Regions from separate parts of the Homo sapiens genome. Here region 2 is linked to region 1. The links are contacts of gene promoters, found by promoter capture Hi-C in blood cells and fetal thymus (Javierre and others, 2016). All regions are on one chromosome and are shown on one strand. Each heading gives the region's core, a stretch centred on a gene start or on the middle of the fragment in contact. The rest is flanking DNA. Distances are from core to core; before and after follow the strand shown.

Region 1 (3,450 bases), core at 333-2,832:
CTGATGGTACCCCACAAATGCAGCTGACGTGACTGGCACAGTGGATGGCCGACTCATTTGTGCCCACAGTCAACTCTTTGGCCTGCCAAGAAAGCAAGGGGTGGTGTGGCCAGAAGGTCTGAGACCCTGGGGACAACCAAGTGACCAGAAAGCTAGTTCCAGGAAAGAAAAGGTTTACAGCCACTGCTCAAAAACACAGATGAGAAATCTAAGTCAGTGTTTTGTGTGTGTTTTTTTGTTTGTTTTTTTTTTTTTTTTGAGACAGAGTCTCGCTCTGTCACCCAGGCTGGAGTGCAGTGGCACAATCTCGGCTCACTGCAAGCTCCACCTCCTGGGTTCACGCCATTCTCCTGCCTCAGCCTCCTGAGTAGCTGGGACTACAGGCGCCCACCACCATGCCTGGCTAATTTTTTTTGTACTTTTAGTAGAGAGGGGGTTTTGCCATGTTAGCCAGGATGGTCTTGATCTCCTGACCTTGTGATCCGCCCGTCTGGACCTCCCAAAGTGCTGGGATTACAGGCGTGTAAGTCAGTGTATTGTAAAAATAAAATGTAAGTTCACATTAGAATAATATTTAAGAAAAATCATTCAGTGGTATCTGAACTGGGTAGCCTAGTGTAAAAGATTTTTCCAGGAGTCCCTGGGGAAGACCTGATCCCACATCTTGGGGAAATAAAAAATTTGAAATATATATTTTCATGTTACCCAAAAGTTAGGGGTGTTTGAAAACTGTCTGAAATGACAAAGTAGAAGGGTTGGAACAGTTTGCAGTGGCCGAACGATGACCATGTGAGCATCGAAAATGAGCAATTGTCACTCACTGGAAGAAGCTGAATCTGTAATTATCCTCACAATTACATGATTTTATAAGACACATTAAAAAATCCTTAAATGCAAAAGCGGGGAGAGCCTAATAAGGAAGGCTAATGCTTACTAATTTTAACAAGAGGAGGACTGTGGGGTCTGCGGGAGTCCTACCCCTGACTTGGGGTGTATGTGGCAACGAGGCAGAAACTGCCTTCTGTCCTACCTAAGAGAAAGACAGGGAACTCCCACAGCCAGGATCTGCCAAAAAAGGTCAAGACTACCAGCAACATGGGCGAGGGGGCCTCTGGGGTCACGTTGAGTTAGTCGCTGCATAGAAAGAGGGCTCAAATCTAAAAAATGCAAGAGGGTAGGTCACCCAAGGGTGGGGAAGGTCTTGGCTGGAGGATGAAGGGGCCTCTTGTCTCTGGGGCGAGGCGATGTCAAGGGGAATGACAAACCAAACCAGTCCAAAGCAAGGGGACTCTGTGTCCTGGGTTCTCAGACAAGGTGACCGGGAGGGAGCCCACCAAGCTCAGGGAAAGGCCTGGCCTCCGTCATCCACCTGAGCTCTGCCTTCCCTTCAGCCTTAGCCTCAGCGTGGACCCGGGACTCCTGCATCCTCCCGTCCTGCCCCGCCTGGGCACACCACGGCCGAGAGCCTCCTGTTGGCATCAGCCTCTCCCCAGCACCGACTGTGCGCTCCCGCTCCCCCCTCCTCCCCACAACCCCGCCCCACACTACTGGCACTGCTGCCTGAGCCTTCCTGGAGTTACTTAATCCACCCCAGCCCCAGGCACTGAACCACGCGTGCAGACCCCTCGTCCTCAGTTCTGCGGAGACAGAGTCCCCACAGCATTTCTGCTCCTCCCTCAAGACTGCGGCAGAGCACAGCACCAGTAGACCCCACACAGTGAGTACCTGTAGGGCAAGTGCCTCTTTCGTTCTCTTAATAATAGAGTCAGGTCCCTTCTCCAAGGGAAGACCCTGCCTTGCAGCCCCAGCCTGGCCTGCCCCTTCTTGCAGGCCCGCTCCGAACCCTGGGTAAGACTCGTGACGAGGCTCCGGGTGGCCGAGCCCTTCCGAGAGTGCTGCGGTCGGCAGGGCTGGGCTGGCTCTCTGGGCTGAGGGGGAGGGGCTCCCACACCTGTGCGCTCCCGGAAGAGGGGACAGCGGCGGGGGCGCCGTGCGCACGGGGGCGAGGGGAGACGACTGCACCTGAGGGAGGCGCAGCCGCAACCGGGTGGGAGGCAGAGACACCCAGAAACAGAGACGGGGCGATACGAACAGACAAAGCCGGCTCGAGCGCGGCCCGAGCGGCGGCGCAGGGAGGCGGCAGCCTGGCGGAGCAGCCCCCACCGCGGCCGGCGCGCCCCCTCGCCACCCCTGCGCGCCAGCGCCGGCCCGCCCCTCCCGCTGGCCTCTGGCGGCTTAACCCTCGCCTGCCCGACCCCGCGGGGCCCCTGGAGCCGCGGTGGGTGGGTGCGGGCGCCGGGCCTCCCCCTCCCGGCCGCGGCGCGCGGCGCCGGGAGCTGACCGTGGTGCTGAGCGCGGCTCGCGCTCCGACGCGGTGCCCGAGCCTGTCGCGGCCGCGCCCTGCTGCACTGCGGGCCCCCAGCGGTAAGTCGCCAAGGCCCCGAGAGGCTGCGTTGGTCCTGCCCCGCGGATGTGGACCCCCGGGGAGGGCAAGGATTGGGGAATTTGGTGCATTCTCTGGCGCGATGGACGGGCTGAGGGCAGGAAGCAGGGTCGACACCCTCCACCCAGCGGTTCCCGGCGCAGTCAGGGGCCTGGGAGCGGTGACCCTTTTAGGTCTGGGCTAGGGAAGCGGAGAAACCCTCCGCCGGCGGATGCAGGAGCTGAGGGAGAGCCAATATCGCTGTGAGGCCCATCTCCTTGCCCCTGGGCAGGCCAGGACCGCCCAGAGGCGCCCTCCAAGGAGGTGGGCCAGGACCTTCCCTCCCCAGAGGGCCCTTTGTCTCCCCAGTGTGGGGGTTGGGTGGCTTGGTGGTGCTCTCACCGCAGATTCTATTTCTGTTTTATTCCCCATTCCCACCCCCACCCCAGAGCACGGTCGCTTTCCCTCCGCACAGTGGCCCTCACTCCAGCCCTCCCATGACAAGGCAGCCTACTACTGAGAACGCTATTGCCCCATAGCTCTACCGCCAGCCCAGTTTCCAGAGGTCCCTGGGCCTGCGCTTTTTTATCACCATACACTCCTTTGTATCACACTGCTGTGACTTTCCTGCATACCGGGGAAGGCATAGAAAATACCAAAACTATTAGCCAAACGTTTTTTTGTCTCAAGGCGTTTCTGTGGCATGTGTATTCCTCCAGGGTTTTTATTTTGCTCCATGAAATCAAACACCGGGACACTTTCAGGTTAAGAAAGGAAAAAAAAAGCCACGGAATTACCTTCTCAAAGGAAAAAGAAAAAGCTGGGCAGCTAAGCCTGAGTTGGTCATGTAGAAAAGCAACCAGTAGAATAACTTCATTTGCCCAATTTGCAATAAATCCATGTCTGTGTGTGCCGTGTAAAACACTGTGATGGGAGGTGCACAGACAGAGGAGTCTCTGCCACCACCTTCTCTCCCCTAAACCCTGCTTGGGCTCCTAACTCGCCTCTGTGTCTCCGCTGTCCATTTT
Region 2 (3,450 bases), core at 669-3,168, 270 kb after region 1:
TGTCCATTTTGAGTTAATTTTTATGTGTGTTAGGTAAGGGTTTAACTTCATTATTTTGCATTTGGATATCCAGCTTCCCAACACTGTTCGCTGTAAAGACTGTCTTTTCCCTCACAGTGTTAGCACCTTTGTCGAAAATCAATTGACCACATATGGGAGGGTTTATTTCTGGATCCTCTATTCAGTTCTATTGGTCTATATATCTATCCTTATGCCATTTCCACATTATTTGATTATTGTGACTTTGTAGTAAGTTTTGAAATCAGGAAATGCGGGTCCTCCAACTTTGTTTTTTTCAAAATAATTTTGGCTAGTCAGGACCCCTTGAGATTCCATGTGAATTTTAATGATGAATTTTTCTATGTGTGTAAAAAAATGCCACTGGGGCTGGGCGCAGTGGCTCATGCCTGTAATCTCAGCATTTTGGGAGGCTGAGGTGGGTGGATCACCTGAGGTTGGGAGTTCGAGACCAGCCTGACCAACATGGAGAAACCCTGTCTATACTAAAAATACAAGATTATCTCGGTGTGGTGTCACATGCCTGTAATCCCAGCTACCTGGGAGGCTGAGGCATGAGAATCGCTTGAACCCGGGAGGCGGAGGTTGCCGTGAGCTGAGATCGTGCCATTGCACTGCAGCCTGGGCAACAAGAGTGAAACTCTGTCTCAAAAAAAAAAAGTCATTGGATTTTTATAGGAATGCATTGAATACACAGATTGCTTTAGGTGGTATTGTCATCTTAAATATATTAAGACTTTCAATTTATGAACATGGGACGTCTTTCTTTGCTTTTTTTTTTTTCCAGCAATGTTTTGTAGCTTTTATTCTACACATCTTTGGCCTCCTTGGTTAAGTTTATTCCTAAGTATTTTATTCTTTGGTTTTTGTTTTTGTTTTTGTTTTTTTGAGATGGAGTCTCGCTCTGTCGCCCAGGCTGGAGTGCAGTGGCGCGATCTCGGCTCACTGCAAGCTCCGCCTCCCGGGTTCATGCCATTCTCCTGCCTCAGCCTCCTGAATAGCTGGGACTACAGGCGCCTGCCACCACGGCCGGCTAATTTTTTTGTATTTTTAGTAAAGACGGGGTTTCACTGTGTTAGCCAGGATGGTCTCGATTTCCTGACCTCGTGATCCGCCCGCCTCGGCCTCCCAAAGTGCTGGGATTACAGGCGTGAGCCACCATGCCTGGCCAGTATTTTATTCTTTTTAATGCTATTGTAATGAAATTTTCAAAAGTTTCCTTTTCAGATTACTCATTGCAAATATACAGAAATAAAACTGATTTTTGTGTGTTAATTTATATTCTGTAGCCTTGCTGAATTTTAGTAGCTTTAATAATTTTATTGTGGATTCTTTAAGGTATGCTACATGTAAGAAGATGTCATCTGCAAACAGATAATTTTATTTTTCCTTTTCAATGTGGATGTCCTTTATTCTTTTTCTTTATTTTATTTTATTTATTATACTTTAAGTTTTAGGGTACATGTGCACAATGTGCAGGTTTGTTACATATGTATACATGTGCCATGTTGGTGTGCTGCACCCATTAACTCTTCATTTAACATTAGGTATATCTCCTAATGCTATCCCTCCCCCCTCCCCCCACCCCACAACAGGCCCCAGTGTGTGATGTTCCCCTTCCTGTGTCCATGTGTTCTCATTGTTCAATTCCCACCTATGAGTGAGAATATGCGGTGTTCGGTTTTTTGTCCTTGCGATAGTTTGCTGAGAATGATGGTTTCCAGCTTCATCCATGTCCCTTTACAAAGGACATGAACTCATCCTTTTTTATGGATGCATAGTATTTCATGGTGTATATGTGCCACATTTTCTTAATCCAGTCTGTCGTTGTTGGACATTTGGGTTGGTTCCAAGTCTTTGCTATTGTGAATAGTGCTGCAATAAACTTACCTGTGCATGTGTCTTTATAGCAGCATGTTTTATAATCCTTTGAGTATATACCCAGTAATGGGATGGCTGGGTCAAATGGTATTTCTAGTTCTAGATCCCTGAGGAATCGCCACACTGACTTCCACAATGGTTAAACTAGTTTACAGTCCCACCAACAGTGTAAAAGTGTTCCTATTTCTCCACATCCTCTCCAGCACCTGTTGTTTCCTGACTTTTTAATGATCGCCATTCTAACTGGTGTGAGATGGTATCTCATTGTTTTGATTTGCATTTCTCTGATGGCCAGTGATGATGAGCATTTTTTCATGTGTCTTTTGGCTGCATAAATGTCTTCGTTTGAGAAGTGTCTGTTCATATCCTCTGCCCACTTTTTGATGGGGTTGTTTTTTTTCTTGTAAATTTGTTTGAGTTCATTGTAGATTCTGGATATTAGCCCTTTGTCAGATAAGTAGGTTGCAAAAATGTTCTCCCATTCTGTAGGTTGCCTGTTCACTCTGATGGTAGTTTCTTTTGCTGTGCAGAATCCTAAGCCAAAAGAACAAAGCAGGAGGCATCATGCTACCTGACTTCAAACTATACTACAAGGCTACAGTAACCAAAACAGCATGGTATTGGTACCAAAACAGAGATATAGACCAATGGAACAGAACAGAGCCCTCAGAAATAATGCCCCATATCTACAACTATCTGATCTTTGACAAACCTGACAAAAACAAGAAATGGGGAAAGGATTCCCCATTTAATAAATGGTGCTGGGAAAACTGGCTAGCCATATGTAGAAAGCTGAAACTGGATCCCTTCCTTACACCTTATACAAAAATTAATTCAAGATGGATTAAAGACTTAAATGTTAGACTTAAAACCATAAAAACCCTAGAAGAAAACCTAGGCATTACCATTCAGGACATAGGCATGGGCAAGGACTTCATGACTAAAACACCAAAAGCAATGGCAACAAAAGCCAAAATTGACAAATGGGATCTAATTAAACTAAAGAGCTTCTTTATTTCTTTTTCTTGACTGGTCTCACCAGGACTTACAGTACTATGTTGAATAGAAGTGGAGAAAGCAGGCATCCTTGTCTCGTTCCTCATCTTAGTGATACAGCTTTCCGTCTTCCATCGCTGAGTATGATGTTGGCTGTGAGATTTTCATATGTGGCCTTTATCACATTGAGGACTTTTCCTTCTATTTCTAGTTTATTGAATGTTTTATCGTAAAAACTTGGTCAATGCTTTTTCTGCATAGATTGAGATAATCATGTATTTTTCCTTCATTCTGTTAATTTAGTGTATTATATTGATTTGCTCTCCTATGTTGACCCCTCCTTGTATTCCAGAAATAAATTCCATTTGGTCCTGATATATAATCCTTTCAATATGCTGCTGAATTCCATTTCCTAGTATTTTGTTGAGGATTTTTGCATCTATATTCATAAGGGATATTAGTCTGTAGTCTTCTTGTAGTTTCTTTGTCTGGGTTTATTATCAAAGCAATAGTGATGTTATAGAATGAGTTGGGAAGTATTCCTTCCTCTTCAAT

The links. Contacts are between HindIII fragments. The CHiCAGO score rates a contact against its expected background, and 5 or more counts as called.
Region 2: a fragment that was not itself captured here is called in contact with the fragment with the promoter of AMER3 in region 1 in 1 of 17 cell types (activated CD4 T cells); the score reaches 5.7 in activated CD4 T cells.

The regions. Positions count from the first base shown.
Region 1 is chr2:130,753,958-130,757,407 of GRCh38, forward strand. It overlaps AMER3 (APC membrane recruitment protein 3), which reads left to right and starts at 1,583. Exons shown (of 2, transcript NM_152698.3): 1 at 1,583-1,717. It overlaps LOC124907890 (a long non-coding RNA gene), which reads right to left and starts at 1,925. Exons shown (of 2, transcript XR_007087239.1): 1 at 1,726-1,925. RefSeq lists enhancers at 1,359-1,858, 2,737-3,240. The HindIII fragment of the contact is 12,260 bases long and covers 1-3,450 here.
Region 2 is chr2:131,018,746-131,022,195 of GRCh38, forward strand. All of the region lies in intron 4 of ARHGEF4 (Rho guanine nucleotide exchange factor 4), which reads left to right. Among named protein-coding and RNA genes, the nearest start is that of SMIM39, 15 kb to the right of the region's middle. The HindIII fragment of the contact is 3,953 bases long and covers 1-3,450 here.